3 separate regions of the Homo sapiens genome follow, and all the other regions are linked to region 1. Evidence: promoter capture Hi-C in human tissues and cell types (Jung and others, 2019). All regions are on one chromosome and are shown on one strand. The core of a region is centred on a gene start or on the middle of the fragment in contact, and the rest is flanking DNA. Distances in the headings are between cores, read along the strand shown.

What was found. The method cuts DNA at HindIII sites, captures the fragments that hold promoters and counts their contacts. A contact is called where the count stands out against the background at its distance.
Region 2: a fragment that was not itself captured here is called in contact with the fragment with the promoter of FOXF1 in region 1 in 3 of the 25 tissues and cell types used here (H1 embryonic stem cells, mesendoderm cells and neural progenitor cells).
Region 3: a fragment that was not itself captured here is called in contact with the fragment with the promoter of FOXF1 in region 1 in 1 of the 25 tissues and cell types used here (H1 embryonic stem cells).

Annotation. Positions count from the first base shown.
Region 1 is chr16:86,508,414-86,513,215 of GRCh38, forward strand. It overlaps FOXF1 (forkhead box F1), which reads left to right and starts at 2,114. Exons shown (of 2, transcript NM_001451.3): 1 at 2,114-3,135; 2 at 4,512-4,802. The coding sequence starts at 2,157. The coding sequence ends at 4,672. It overlaps FENDRR (FOXF1 adjacent non-coding developmental regulatory RNA), which reads right to left and starts at 447. Exons shown (of 4, transcript NR_033925.1): 1 at 242-447. RefSeq lists an enhancer at 3,607-4,373. The HindIII fragment of the contact is 9,827 bases long and covers 1-4,802 here.
Region 2 is chr16:86,285,108-86,289,909 of GRCh38, forward strand. It overlaps LINC01081 (long intergenic non-protein coding RNA 1081), which reads right to left and starts at 1,140. Exons shown (of 6, transcript NR_104139.1): 1 at 947-1,140. It overlaps LINC02135 (long intergenic non-protein coding RNA 2135), which reads left to right and starts at 1,324. Exons shown (of 3, transcript NR_038438.1): 1 at 1,324-1,442. RefSeq lists an enhancer at 44-729. The HindIII fragment of the contact is 9,125 bases long and covers 1-4,802 here.
Region 3 is chr16:86,372,776-86,377,577 of GRCh38, forward strand. No RefSeq gene overlaps it. Among named protein-coding and RNA genes, the nearest start is that of LINC00917, 29 kb to the left of the region's middle. RefSeq lists an enhancer at 4,403-4,802. The HindIII fragment of the contact is 9,034 bases long and covers 1-4,802 here.

The sequences.
Region 1 (4,802 bases), core at 864-3,363:
GTAGTTAGCGGGAGACAAGGAGTCCGGAGAAAACCGAGAGGCGGGTAGGCTTTGAACGCGCCGCGCCGCGGGCCGTGCTGCGAGCCCGGCACACGCCTCTCGCCCCAGCTCGCGCTGGGGCTTGGCCTCTAGGCTCTTCGCGATGACCCGCGAAAACACCCCTCGCCCCCCTCTTCTCAACTCGGAACCCTGGAGGGAGAGGCCGCGCCCGGCCAGCAGTCGCTGCGAGAGCAGCACTCACCTGGGTCTGTGCGCGCCGCGATGCGCCGGGGCTCCTGCGCTGTCCTGCGCTCCGCTCTCGGCACCACCTTTCGTGGCTCCACCGCCCCCAGCCCGCACCCGAGCGCTGAGGTGGCAAGGGCAGGTCTGCGTGCGAGCCCCCTGCGGGCTGGCAGCCAGGTGCGCGAGGGCCGCCCTTGCCGGCGCTCCCAGCCCGCGCTGTCTGCTCTCAGGAACCTGGCCTGGCGCGCAGTGTCAGAGGCCCCGCGGCGGCGGCAGGCCGAGCCCACAGGGGCATTAGGCCAACTCCCCCCTCCCGCCCTGCGCACGCGGAATTCTCTATTATTATTATTAAAGAATCCCCCAGAACTTGTTTACGTTAAACCCTGTAAACTTCCTGCCAGGGCCTTTGCCATCTCTCGGGAAATCGGAACCTGCGCTTTGAAAACGGGGCCGCGGGGCCAAATAGGCGGGTTTTCAGTGTGTGTTGGGGGTGGGGGAGGGCAACTGAACTACGTGTGAGTTCAGATCCGAGCGTGGCGTGTGTACGCGTGAGTGGGAGTGAGTGCGAACTTAAGCTCCTGTGGGCCTTAAGCTTCCGTGTCAACGAGTGCATTAGTGGGTGCGCACATGCCTGAGCGCCCTCTGCATATGAGTGTGCACACACGCATGGGTGTGTTTACACGTCTGTTTGCGTAATTTACCGGGTTTGCATGTGCATCAAGACATGTATGTGTGTGCTAATGTGTGGACAAGAGCGCGAGGGTGTGCGCGCACGGGTGAGTGACTGAGCACGCCGCTTATTCAGGGGCCTGTGCGGTCTGGGTCGCCTCTGGGCCAGCGGGTTCTCACTCGCCCCCGTCAGGCCCGCGGCGCCCGAGACAAAGCGGCCGCGACTCGTGCTGCGCTTTCGTTTTCCGCCTGCGCTCTGCCCCGGCGGCTGCCCGCCCGCTCGCAAGCTGCTGGGCGAGTCCGAAAAATCCCGGGAGCGGCGCAGTTCTTCCCGGGGCGGGGAGAGTGGGTAGGCGGTCCCTCGCGGGAACTTAGCCGGCCGGCCGCGAGGACCGGAGTCGAGCCGGCTGTGCCTGCGATGGTCACGACCGGGAGGCCGCCGCACTTGCGATTTGCTACAGGGCTGTGCGCGTCGGGGAAGGCCCCGGCCCAGGGAGCGTTTCCCGCCGCGCCGCCCGGGCGGGGAAGGCGGGGTCCAGCGCGCACCGGGGCTGAACCGCGGGCGGAGGGCGCATTAACACTTGCTCGCCAGGTTGGTGGAGGCGGGGCGGATTCTGCTGGCGGCCGCGGGGCGGCGAGAGTGGGGGCTCTTTAAGCGCCCACCAACGCGGGGGCCCGAGGGGGGCAGGGACGGAGGGAGGGAACTCCGGGAGGGTCTTAGGCCGACCCGCGAGACGCAGCCGAGCGGAGATGGAGTGAAGGCTGCCTCGCCCGGAATCTCGGAGCCGAGCGCCGCGGGCGGCGGGGACTCAGGGCTGCTCCCGGCTGGGGCGCACGGCCGTAAGACCTGGAGGTGGTGCCTCCCCCCAAAAAATACCGGCGGGGGTAGCTTCCTCACGGCCTTCGCCCGGGCTGCCCTCGGCCTCAGCTCGGCTCCTTTCCTTGTGGGAGGGCGAGAAAGAAAGAGGGAGGAGAGAGGTGGGGGAGGCGGGAGTTGGAGAGAGAGGGGCTCTGAGCCAACCGCCGGCGGATCCAGCAGCTCCTCGGGGAGGGCGGGCGGGAGCGCGGGGGCGGGCGCGCCGCGGCTCGCTCGGGAGAAGTGGCCGCCGATGACGGCAGAGGTGCAGCCAGCCCCGCGCGCGCAGCCCCCTCCCCTTCGCCCTCCTCCCCCCCGTCGTCCTCTTCCTCCTCCTCCTCCTCCTCCTCCCGGCCCGTCCGCGGCGCAGAGCAGCGGCGGCAGCGGCGGCGGCGGCAGCAGCCACCCGATGTCTTCGGCGCCCGAGAAGCAGCAGCCACCGCACGGCGGCGGCGGCGGCGGCGGCGGGGGAGGCGGCGCGGCCATGGACCCCGCGTCGTCCGGCCCGTCCAAGGCCAAGAAGACCAACGCCGGCATCCGGCGCCCGGAGAAGCCGCCCTATTCCTACATCGCGCTCATCGTCATGGCCATCCAGAGTTCACCCACCAAGCGCCTGACGCTGAGCGAGATCTACCAGTTCCTGCAGAGCCGCTTCCCCTTCTTCCGGGGCTCCTACCAGGGCTGGAAGAACTCCGTGCGCCACAACCTCTCGCTCAACGAGTGCTTCATCAAGCTACCCAAGGGCCTTGGGCGGCCCGGCAAGGGCCACTACTGGACCATCGACCCGGCCAGCGAGTTCATGTTCGAGGAGGGCTCCTTTCGGCGGCGGCCGCGCGGCTTCCGAAGGAAATGCCAGGCGCTCAAGCCCATGTACAGCATGATGAACGGGCTCGGCTTCAACCACCTCCCGGACACCTACGGCTTCCAGGGCTCGGCCGGCGGCCTCTCGTGCCCGCCCAACAGCCTGGCGCTGGAGGGCGGCCTGGGCATGATGAACGGCCACTTGCCGGGCAACGTGGACGGCATGGCCCTGCCCAGCCACTCGGTGCCCCACCTGCCTTCCAACGGCGGCCACTCGTACATGGGCGGCTGCGGCGGCGCGGCGGCCGGCGAGTACCCGCACCACGACAGCTCGGTGCCCGCCTCCCCGCTGCTGCCCACCGGCGCCGGTGGGGTCATGGAGCCGCACGCCGTCTACTCGGGCTCGGCGGCGGCCTGGCCGCCCTCGGCGTCCGCGGCGCTCAACAGCGGCGCCTCTTATATCAAGCAGCAGCCCCTGTCCCCCTGTAACCCCGCGGCCAACCCCCTGTCCGGCAGCCTCTCCACGCACTCCCTGGAGCAGCCGTATCTGCACCAGAACAGCCACAACGCCCCAGCCGAGCTGCAAGGTGAGTGGGGAGGCCGAGGGCGCCCTGGTCCCCGGGAAGTCGAGTCTGAGTGGCAGCGGGACCCAGCTGGGGCGAGCCCCTCCACTTCTGTGGTCGGAACCCCAAGGCTGAGGGGAGGCACCAGCTCCCCAAGGTGTCTCTTGGCCCCACCTCTCCCCCTTCGAAGAGTGACTACCGCTCTTGACCCTAGTTTGGGCCAATCTGTTTCTCTTTCTGTTCGAACTCCAGCTGCCAGCTGCTCCAGGCCTGACCAGGTAGGCTGGTCCTGAGCCAGATGTCCCAGACCCCAGTGCCCTAAGTCCTTTTGTGTCCCTTAAGTCCCCTCACAGCTTGGAAAGATCCTGGGATGGACCCAAGGCTCCCAGCGCTGGCCAGATGGCTGTCCCTCCCTGGTGGTGGCCCTCAGGCTGCCTGGAGGGCTGCCTCTGCCTGGGGCTGGGCGGAACGGAAGGTGTTAGGCCCAAAGCCGCTGGGCCAGCGCTCAGAGGCTCAGCCCCGGCCTTTCAGGGGACCAGACCTGGCAGACCCACAGCTGAGTCCAGGGGCATTTTGTGGTGACTGAGGCAGGAGGGTGCCGTGGCCAGGCCCCGGAGGGTCAGAGCTGCAGACCGGGCCATGGGGGCTCCTTGTTTTTTAGGATCCAAGTTTTCAGGTCCCCACACCCCCAACACCCCTGATACCCCAATACCCCGAACATGCAGAAGCATCTGCCAAGGGAGATGCAGCAGCCTCGCCTCCTGATTCTGCCCCAGGCCCCCCGCAGCCTGCAGGCCCAGCTCTGGAAAAAGCTGGAGTGAGCTTGCCAGGGCCAGTCCAGGGTCAGCTGTCAGCAGCCCCAGGAGGCAGGAGCCAGGCCTGGAGGCCTTAGGCAGCCTCTCTGCGGGGGACTCCCCGGCTCCGGGGCCTGTTCTCTGGAGAAGCTTCTTCTCACCCCTGCTGCTGGCCCGGCGCTGGCCCTGCACTGGCCTCTCCTTCAACCCCGCCGGCAGTCGTAGCCTCTGAGGTTGGGGGTGGTGGTGGCTGCCCTGGCGGTGACGGCCATGGGCGTTAGGGGCCCTCCACTTGGTCTCCCTCACCACTTCCCCTATGGCTCTGGAAGCCCTGGGCCCCTGCACGGTGTCCGAGGCTGGACAGGCACGCAGCAGGCAGGCAGGCAGGCAGGCAGGCAGGCCGTGGCAAGTGTTCTGGAGTCTTTTCCTTGGGTGCGCAGCTGGAAGGCCGGGACTCGGGGAGGAGAGCGGGGAGGCGGCCGTGCTCTGGAGCCAGGCTGACAGGCCCTGTGCGCCCCACGGGAGCACTGCTCCTCTGCCTGAACTCTGAGCCACCGTGGCTAACTCTTCTGCTCCCCCAACCCCTCCTGTCGCCTCGCCTTGCAGGCATCCCGCGGTATCACTCGCAGTCGCCCAGCATGTGTGACCGAAAGGAGTTTGTCTTCTCTTTCAACGCCATGGCGTCCTCTTCCATGCACTCGGCCGGCGGGGGCTCCTACTACCACCAGCAGGTCACCTACCAAGACATCAAGCCTTGCGTGATGTGAGGCTGCCGCCGCAGGCCCTCCTGGTGCAGGCAGGCGGGTCACAGGGACCCTGGACCGGCACAAGAAACTGCTTTCTTCTCGAGGTATAACCGTCGGCAGAAGAAAAGGGTTCCACCTCTCCCCAACCGGA
Region 2 (4,802 bases), core at 819-3,318, 220 kb before region 1:
AGGTTCTCTGCTGCTGCATTATGGGGGTGGGGGTGGTGTGGGAAGGGTGCCAGGGATTGGGCACAGGAAAGCACCCCCAGCCCAACTGCTGAGCTGCCAGAAACCTGGAGAGTATATGAGGTGCCACTTTAGGGCATTCCCTGTTTCGTTTCAGGGTTCCTGTATGGAACCTGAGACCACCAAAGGCACGCTGTGGTGCCGAGACCCAGTGCCTGCCTCTCTCAGTAGCACTGTTCCAAAGCCATCAGCTCTTTCCTCCCCTTCCCATCCCCCACCTCTGGACTTAGTTCATGAATCTCCCTCCCCTATTCCCTTCTCCTCTATTGGGCCCACCCAGCTCCACATAGTTTTAGCTCCTGGTACCCTCCAGCACATTCTACAGAGACCCCAGGTCTGTGCTCCACACTCCTGCCTTTCATCTGGGTTCCCAGAAGCTGCAGGGACAACAGAGACCACCTTGTGCCCCACCCACCTTCCTGGGTGGACACCCAGATGCTAGGCTCTGAGACCCCTTCCTATGGAAGCACAAAGTCCCCCCTCCGGGCTGGGCCGCCCACCACTGTGCTGTCCACACCTTCCGGAGGGAGGCAGGTACCTGTGGGTAGAGCTGGGGAGCCCCAGCGCACCATTTCAGGACTTGGAGAAAATAAAATAACCTGGTCGCACCTCAGTTTGCATATCAGTGAAGTGCGATGATAAATAGTACCTTCCTCCCAAGGTCAATTGTGAGGATTAAAACAGAATATTCACAAAAGTCCGTAGCTCTCTAGACTATAAGCGCCTGCTTCATTCGTAGCAGGTGCTGTGACTATTATCATGATTATTTCACCCTAAAACACTTTGAATAGGACAGCGGAAAGACCCTTGACCCCTCCGGGGACAATCCAAGAGCCCCTTGGCTAAAACAGAGCCATGAAGCCCCACTAGGCTGGGCTTTGAGACTAACCTCACCACCACCCTCAACCTGGTGACCCAGCACAGGTTCGCTGTCTCGCTGTGTAGCCCCGGGTGTAATCCATGTCTGGAGATAGAACACTGGAGCTCAGTGGGGCCTGAGCTTTCTGGAGTGAGGGTCACCGCAGGGCATGCACTGGAAATCCAGATCCCTGGGCCGCTCCCTGGGAAGTTCTGATCTAATATGTCCAGGCTCCTTCTGGGATCTGTTTATTAAGCATCAGGATGATTCATATGACTCCGCCGTTGGAACACTGGAGCCTGCGCGGGTGTCAACGCTTGTTCACTTGTTACAGGTGAGGTCACCCCTTTGTCACGCACCTCGGGCCCTGCGCCCTGGTGGTCCAGGGCTGGTGCGGGGGCTTAGGTGCAGCCTCTCCCACGTGCACCTGCGAGGCCTACCCTTTCTCCCGTCTCAGGGCCTTGATGCCCGTGCCTGTGAAGCTGGCATCAGCGAAGACCTCAGACGGGAAGGGATGAGTGAGCAGGTGTGCCCCCAGGGACCCCACGCGCCCCCCGCCCCTTCGCGCACCGAGGTCGTCCTGCGTCTCCGGGATCCCAGGCCAGCGGGAGGAGGGGCCGCAGGGGCGCTGCGGGCAAGGGGAGCCCAGTGCGCAGGGCTCCAGAAACCCCGACCCTCGCAGGGGAGAGCCAGCCGAACCAGACGTGTGGGGGCAGCAGCCGCCGCGGCGGTCTGGGACGCGGGTGTCGCCTTCCACGGGACTTGGGTCCAGGGACCCAAGACGGGGATCTGGGAGGAGGGGGATGCCCTTGGGGCCTGAGACCCGGGCGGTTTCCGAAGCGAAGTAGTTACCCAGAACCGCTCCCTACCTTCTCCCCGCCTCCCTGTCTTTCTGCCCCTCTGTCCCCTGCAGCTGCTCGGCCCTCCCTCCTCTGAAACCCACCGCCCGCCCAAGGCTCACTCCTTCCTGCTGTTCCCGCCCGCGAAGCTGTTGCAGGGACGGTGCGCCCTTGGGCTGCACTCACCACCGCCCCTCGCCCGCGACGTCCTGGCCCCCTAACCCCAGCTTTCCCGCCGCCGCTCACTCCCGCGCTCCGCTGCAGCTCAGCCCGGTCTGCAACTCTCCCTCTGTTTTCTGCCCCGCTCCTCAGTTCTGCGCTCTCCTCTTCTCCAGGCTTCCCTCTCCTCCTCCTTCTGCCTCTCCCCTGTCCCCGTTCCATTCTCCTGCGCCCCTCGCCAGCGCGCTCGCAGCCCATCGGCTCCTGCCGGGGCCCCTCTGGTGCCAGCCGCCTTCAGGCTGTGGGTCCGTCCGCTGGTGGAGGGGAAGGTCGGGGCTGGCCCCGGGCCCCGCGCTGCTGGGCCCCATGGTCAGTGGAGACGCCTCCTGGTCTCCCTTCAGAGCTCCTCGTCGTCGTCGGAGTCATCGGAGGACCAGGAAGGAGGACCCCCCACCAGCTGCCGCAGCCTCTGCTGCGAATCCCCCCACACCACACCTCTCACCCCAGAAGCACAATTATCATTGCCCAGCCCCTTTCAGACAAAAGGAAGAGCGCGGTGGGGATGATCAGAGGGAACCCTGACTCAATTCATGGTGTGCGTGCGTGCGTGCGTGCGTGTGTGTGTGTGTGTGTGTGTGTGTGTGATTGATTGATTGATTTTTAACTAGAGGGGAAAAATTCCTAAGAAAATGGGCAAAAATTACAGATTGTCCCATTTTTGTCCAGTATTATCATTGGAAAGGGAGGAAGATGAAGAAAGAGCCAGTGTTTGTGGAGTTTGTTTCAGGCTAGAAATAGAAAAAGGCTGCAGTTGATTAAGGAGGTGGCCAGAGAAGCAAAGTTTGTTGAACGCTGAAGATCACCTTGTAAAGGTGGAGTTCCTCAGGCTTTACTCCGGGAGCCCTCCCTGGGGAGCAAGAGAAGGCAGGGTCAGTGCTGAGCCATCCCGGGTGTGTGGACCTGCTACGCTAGGTCTGGTCTGGACGGTGCTGATGGGACCGGGGATGACAGAGCCAGGAGGGGCCAGAATGAAAGTCGCAGAAAACCAGAAACAGGCTACAAACTTCTCCAGTCTGCCCACCCTCCCCTTCCGTTTGTTTCATGAAAACCCATTTCCAATCAGAGGACCACAGGCCAGGGAACATGGTGAGCCCAGCCAAAGACACTTTCAGGACAGATGGTATAGAAACGTGGTACTTTGGTAAAGAAATCAAACTTTAAAGAGATCAAAACTCTGACTTCATCCCTCCCCAGACAGCATCTTGAAAAGGCGTCCCAGAGCATCAGCAAAGGACATCTCTGGGTCAGCGGGGACAGAACTGTCTCTTGACCTTGAACTTAAGTCATTTCTTTGTGATGCCTGAAACGTGGGCACTGAGCATTCATCGTTTTGTAAAAAGAGGGGACAAAAGAGTAATATTTTGGACTTTTTTTTTTCTCAAATAAAATGAACAAGGATGGATGCCTGGGGGTGGAATGGAATTATGTGCAACCTCAGATGATATAGAATCTGCAGGCAGTCTCTGTGCTGTACAGAAGAGCCCCTGCCATGCCTCCCTGCCCCAAAGAGTGGTTGCAAATTGAGTTCACGCGGGAGAGTTTAGAACACTGCTTGGTTCATAGGCAGGGTTGGTCGGTGTCATTCTTGTTATAGTATTCACCACTTGGCTATGATGGAGAAGTGAACTGAAATTCGATTTTCTTGCCTCTCACTGGGGACTGTGTTTGGTCGTAAGCTGCTGCTCGGTCTACCTATAGAGGTGGGGGTGCCTGAGCAGGAAGCGGTGCTCCCTCTGCTGTAACTGCTCCCTCCCCTAGAACTCAGCCTGCCTGCCCTGGGTCTGCCACAGCTGACAATTCCATCTGGAGTCTCCCCTAAGGGAGGCAGCTCCCCAGTCTTTGCTGTTAGCCCAACCTCAGCCGCAAAAATCCAAGCCGCTCCAGGTCCCCACTGCTCTGCTCTTGTGGGGAGCAGAACATGACATGGCTTCACACAAACAACCGCATTCACTGAATTGCACAGATTGATGTCCAGTTTGCCAGAATACCTCAGGCTTGCCGCCTCTCCAAAGCCCACGCATGGAGCCCTGAAATGCCGGCCCACCCGCGGGACGCTCACACCCCTCCAGATCCCAGCAAGGCTGGAGGCTGAAGGTTTTAACGCGGCTTTCTGCTCTACTGCCATGAAGGATTGCGTCGTCGAAAAATATTGAAGGGTGAAGGGAGATGTTCAGGCAAATAAATGAGGAAAGTAATTTGCAAAACAGCACGTGCACCATGTGATCCCATTCTTATAAGGACACGGTAAAATAACTAATAGGAATAACAACAGCTAATGCTTACTGGGTGCTGACTAAGCGTGCACGCTTCCCTGTGTGTGTGTGTGTGTGTGTAACTTACACACCAAAACACCAAACTGTGGCAAGTGGTTCTCTTGGTGGTGGCTTTGTCATGTTCCTCTCCCCTTGTGTAGTTGCATATGGTCCAGGTATTCTACAAGAAACACATCTTACTTTGTAAACCATTGCGGTGAATTTTTAAAAGATCACGTAAAGTCCATTTCTAGCACCCTTTTAAAGTGGAGGCGCTGGTATTGGAAGCTGCAGCCCTTAACGGGCTCCGCACCGAGTTTCCTTTCTCCCTCAGGACCGGTTTCTCAGAATTCCGTCTGTCATTGCTGCAGGACTGGAAGGGATTCATCTTGGGATTTTCTGTAGTAACTTAGCAGAGGCCTTAGCCTACTGTAGATGATCTATACATAATAGTAAATAAGACTTCTCCAAAATGATGTTTTAATCAACCTCCCCAGCCACATCAAAGCCCAGCAAAAACCTTTCTCCCTCAGGCAGGTGGCTTTTCTCTTCCTCAGGAGTGATTTCACCTCTCTG
Region 3 (4,802 bases), core at 1,342-3,841, 140 kb before region 1:
AAGAAGAGATAATTTTTCCCCTAAAGGAGATCGAGTGCTCTGACCAAAGGAAGGTGGAGGGGGACTGGGCAGCTCGAGACCAGTCATGGGCACCACCTCGAGGTTATACAGCAAGGTCTTCACTCACGCCTGCATTCATTCATTCCGCTCTTCTTTATTGAGCACCTACTCTGTGCTAGGCACTGTGCTAGAGCTTGAACTCAAATCACCTGCCCCTGCCTCCATAGTTCCTTGGGATTGCTCTGTGGGGTAAGCTAGACCCTGCACCATCCTATCCGTGAGCAGCCTGGCAGAGCCACGGGGCAAGCTCATGACCTAAAATTCACCCAGTCACCGAGGCACAGTGACCCTGTGACCCCAGCCAGCAATGCCCCCTCCTCTCCCTCACAGACCCCCTGAAAAATCTCACTAATTCCTCAAGCAGAGCCCCATCACGCCGAGGTCTGTCCAACAGAGGGGTCGCTGATAGACTCAACACCATCCTTATCTGACCTCTGGTGGCCTTCCCGGGGTCGTGACCCCAGTAATACCTGGCTTCAGCAGTGGGGGTCTCCTGGAGACAGATGGGCCCCCAGCAAGGGGTTCATAAATCATCCCGAAAGAGCTTTGCGTCTCTGTATATTCCACAATAGCCTGTGAGGGGCCAGGGCAAGACATGACGGGAAACCAGATCTTCTGGAGAAGGAGTGAAGATAACAAGGCATGACGGCTGGGCTTCCCTGGGCTCCTCATTAGCAAGGGCGGCCCAGGACAAAAGCCGACAGCCGAGAGCGGCTAGAGGACACCATGGGTCCGTTTGCAGGTGCTGTCTCTGCCAGCTTCGGTGCATCTTTCAGCAAGGACGGATGTGGCGGGCAGCATAGGCACCACACATGTGGACATGCACAACATATGTGCCCTAGTGGCAACCTGGACCATGGGAGGCCCAAAGGATCTGATCCAGGGAGGAGCAGGCGGCACAGGGTCCTTGCTGTGAATCCAGACCTCTGGGTCTCTCTGGGGAGCCCTTCGGTTGACCCTTAATATGCCTAAGGACTGATTGCACCAGAAATGTGGAGCTCATTCTCCATGCAGAACCTGGCCCTCCATGGCTCTTAGGGCTGAGGGCTTGCTTGGCTCCACCAGGGTCAGGTGAATGGACAGAAAAAGGTACAGGAACACGGTGGGGAAAGCACGATCCGTGGAATCAAGTGGACCTGGGTTTCAGTACTGGCCCCCACTGCCAGCAACTGTGTGGCTTTATCCAGCTTCCTTAACCTTTTGGGTCCTCGGTTTCCTTCCAGAGTCTTCCAGGGCATTGCCCACTTGGCCCGTAACCTGCTAAATTGCCTCTGATAGTTGGGGTGGTGGCAGGCTGGGAGCTGACATTTGGAGACAGAGTTGAGTTCTCAATTCCTGCTGTTTGAGTTTGTGCAGGCTGTTAGCCTCTCTGGGATTCCTTTCCTTGCTTGTCCAAGGGTCACGTCCTTCACAGAACCATGGTTATGGGGATGTAGGCACAGGGCATGGATGTGTGGCATCCAGCATGAAATACCCACCCGATAAAAGACCCACCGGATAAAAATTACCATCATCAGCACGTGGTGCTCACCGCCAGTAGCCTTGTCTATAAAATCACTTTCCAGGCTGTGGTGCATGTGGCCTTGTGGTGCATGTGGCATTGTGAGAACTTCCAGAGGCACACTGCTTTACATGCAGGAGGTACTTGAGAAATGGTCATTTCTCTTCCTCCTGGTCTCAATTGCCCTTAATTGCTTTAATTCCTAATAACTCTGAATAGTCAGTCAATCCTGAAAGTCCCGGTGGCTGGAACCCATGAATGGGATGGTCAAGAAGACACGTGCAGGCCTCCGAGAACCCAGACTTCAAACCTGAAGGCACCTTTTTTCCTCATCCCTGGTGACCCACTGAAAACAGATGCATTTTGTGAGTCTTGTTTTTTATGAGCGTGGTGGAGACAGTTCATTATGTCCTCAAGATCCTTTCAGTTGTCTCCTCATCAACAGAACTCAGCAAGTGTACATTTCCCAGGCTCTCTTGCAGCTAGAAGTAGTCATGTGACACCATTCTAGCCAAAGAGATATGAGCTGGGGCTGTTGCTAGGACACAAACCTGTATTTCCTTGATACTTCTTTCTGTTCTTCCTGGTTTGGCCGCAAGCTGCTGTTTCCATTTAAGGATGCGTCTTATGACCCTTTTTTATTAGCTCCCTTGGGCCTCCTGAATTCCTTCTTTAATGAAACTATTTTATTTTGGGACTTGGAATCATCCATAGCCATTTTCACTGGATTTCTAAGTGTACCATTTTGTAACAATGTGCTATGTTTTGAGTTACAAATGTGGGCGCATTTTGTCATTACAAGAGGTACCACATTTTAAAATTTCTAATTGAAATACACAAAAGTACACGTATCATAAATGTGCCACAGGATGAATTTTGTCAACTGAACATGCTCATGTTCGTTTTTTGCCACGGATGTGTTCATGCTGGCTCATGTGGGAGATGGATTTTCTTCTTTAGGTCACAGTATGGGTCTCCTGGGGCTGCTGTGACCTAGGTAACCAGCACCCAAATTGAGAAACAGACATCACCGACTCCCAGAAGCCCTCCCTTCTCTGAAACCTGCCCTGTCGGAGTAACCACTATCCTGACTTCCATACAGTATTCATTCCCTCTGCCTATGTTCATGCTTTTATACATAAATGAAATCATACAGTATGTTCTTTTGTTTCTAGATTCCTTGACTCAACATTGAGTAGGTGACATTCATTTGTGTTGCAGCCTGTGGTTGTGACTCATTCATTCTCGCTGCTGCACAATATTTCACTACATCTAAACACCAGCACATCTTTGTTTCTAACAGCTGTCCGGTATCCTCACATGCGGGAGTAAAGTGCTGTATTTAACTGGTCCTCTTTGAATGGACTTTGGGAGACTTTCTGTTTGGGGGTGATGACCAGCAATGTTGCAATTCTATTCCTGAACATATCCCTTGGTGTGCTTTCACCAGTATATAGGCAAATTTCTAGCTTGTCTTTTAAAATGTATCTGCTTCTGAATTGCTGGGCTAATTAAAGAATCATATGGTCCTTTTGTAATTAAAACAAATCCAACGAAACGCATTCAAATTGCCAAAGTACCCCAGCAGCAAAGTGGAGTCACTTACTCTCTCCCTCTCCTGCCTCCATGAAGTGACATATTCTTCCTCCTCTGCGGGCACAGCCTTGAAGCTCACGATCCTTCCACTGCTCTTCCCTCTGGAATGTCTGGAAACAATCTGAAGCCTCGTGAATTTTATAGGCTCTAAGCATCCATCAGCTGACCTAATCATTTTCAGAGACCTGAAAGTCAGTGTTATCGCCGGTACTACCAAACCTTCACCCGTCGGAAATTGGAATGGGAAGATTGGTTGCAGTCCATTTCTCCAGAGAAAATGCTCTGAATTGAGGAGGAAAAGGTCTAGTCAGACCCATTTTCATTAAAGAATGAGAATCCAGGAGGCCTGAGAGAGCTAATAAAAAGAGCTGTAAAATGCATTGCTAAATTAAAAAAAAAAAGGTTTCTTTAAGGCATGTGTAATACATATTCTATTGCAGTAAAAGGGGGAAATCACTTACATACACATGAAAACAAACCCTTACCACCTTTGAGGCTATCATGCACATTAGAGAGACTCTGAAAGGGGACATCAGGCACTGCAGAGAGATGAGGGGAATGAGACGAGCCAGACTTGGACCTCGCATAGTCTTCCTTTCTGTACTGTTTAAATGTTCTAGCCATAAGCATTGTATTGTTTTTCTATTACTGTGTAACAATTTACCACAAATTTAGTGGCTTAAGACAACACACATTTATTAACTCAGTTTCTGTGGGTCAAGAGTCTGAGTGCAGCTTTGCTGGTGCCCGGCTCGGGGTATCACAAGGCTCAGTCAGGGTGTCAGCTGGGCCACATTCTCATCAGACACCCAACTGGGGAACGATTCTCCTCCAAGTGCCCTCAGATTATTGGCAGAATTGTTTCCCCTGAAGCTATAAAGCTCATAGCAGCTGGTGTCTTCAAGGCCAACAAGAGAGTCTTGTATTTCTTTTTTTTTTTTTTTGTATTTTTATTTATTAATTATGTCCCTACACTTCCTTGTTTTTTTCTGCTGTGTGTAAACAGTTGGGCCCATTTCCTTCCATAAATGACCATCCTCAGTATGTCAGCCACTTCCTCCATATCACGAAATGGTTGCCATGGTTCCAGCTGTCATTTGCTGCTTTCATAATTTCCAATGGAAGAAGGCAAACTGTTTCTTCATGTCTCTTTTTGAGATCACTAAGCCTAGATGGTCAGCACTCTGTACTTTCCACCCGCATGTCCCTCCATGAGCCAAAATGGTCTAGAGCTAGGCAGATGGGCTCACGTAAGTTACCAAACTCAGCCTCCAACACTTACTACATGACAATGCGTGAGTCCTTTCATCTCTCTGTGACCCAGCTTTCTCATCTATAAAAGCTGATAACAATAGTATCCATTTCAAAAAATTGTTGTGATCATTAAATGAGGTTATGGATGCATTTGAGCCCAGGGAGTTTTTAAGATCCTCACTATTGTGGTCATTGTTGTTGTTATTATTATTACTAGCCTGGGGCAGTGTCTGGCTTAACAAATACTTGAGTTGATGACTGATTGACGGGTGGGAACGCTGACATGTGTGGAACCCAAAGAAAGGAGCCGAGGTGTGGGAGAAGCAGGAGCTGACAAGCAGCTTGCATGGGACCACCCAGCACGCGGCCTCAGGCCTGGGCCGAGCCTTCG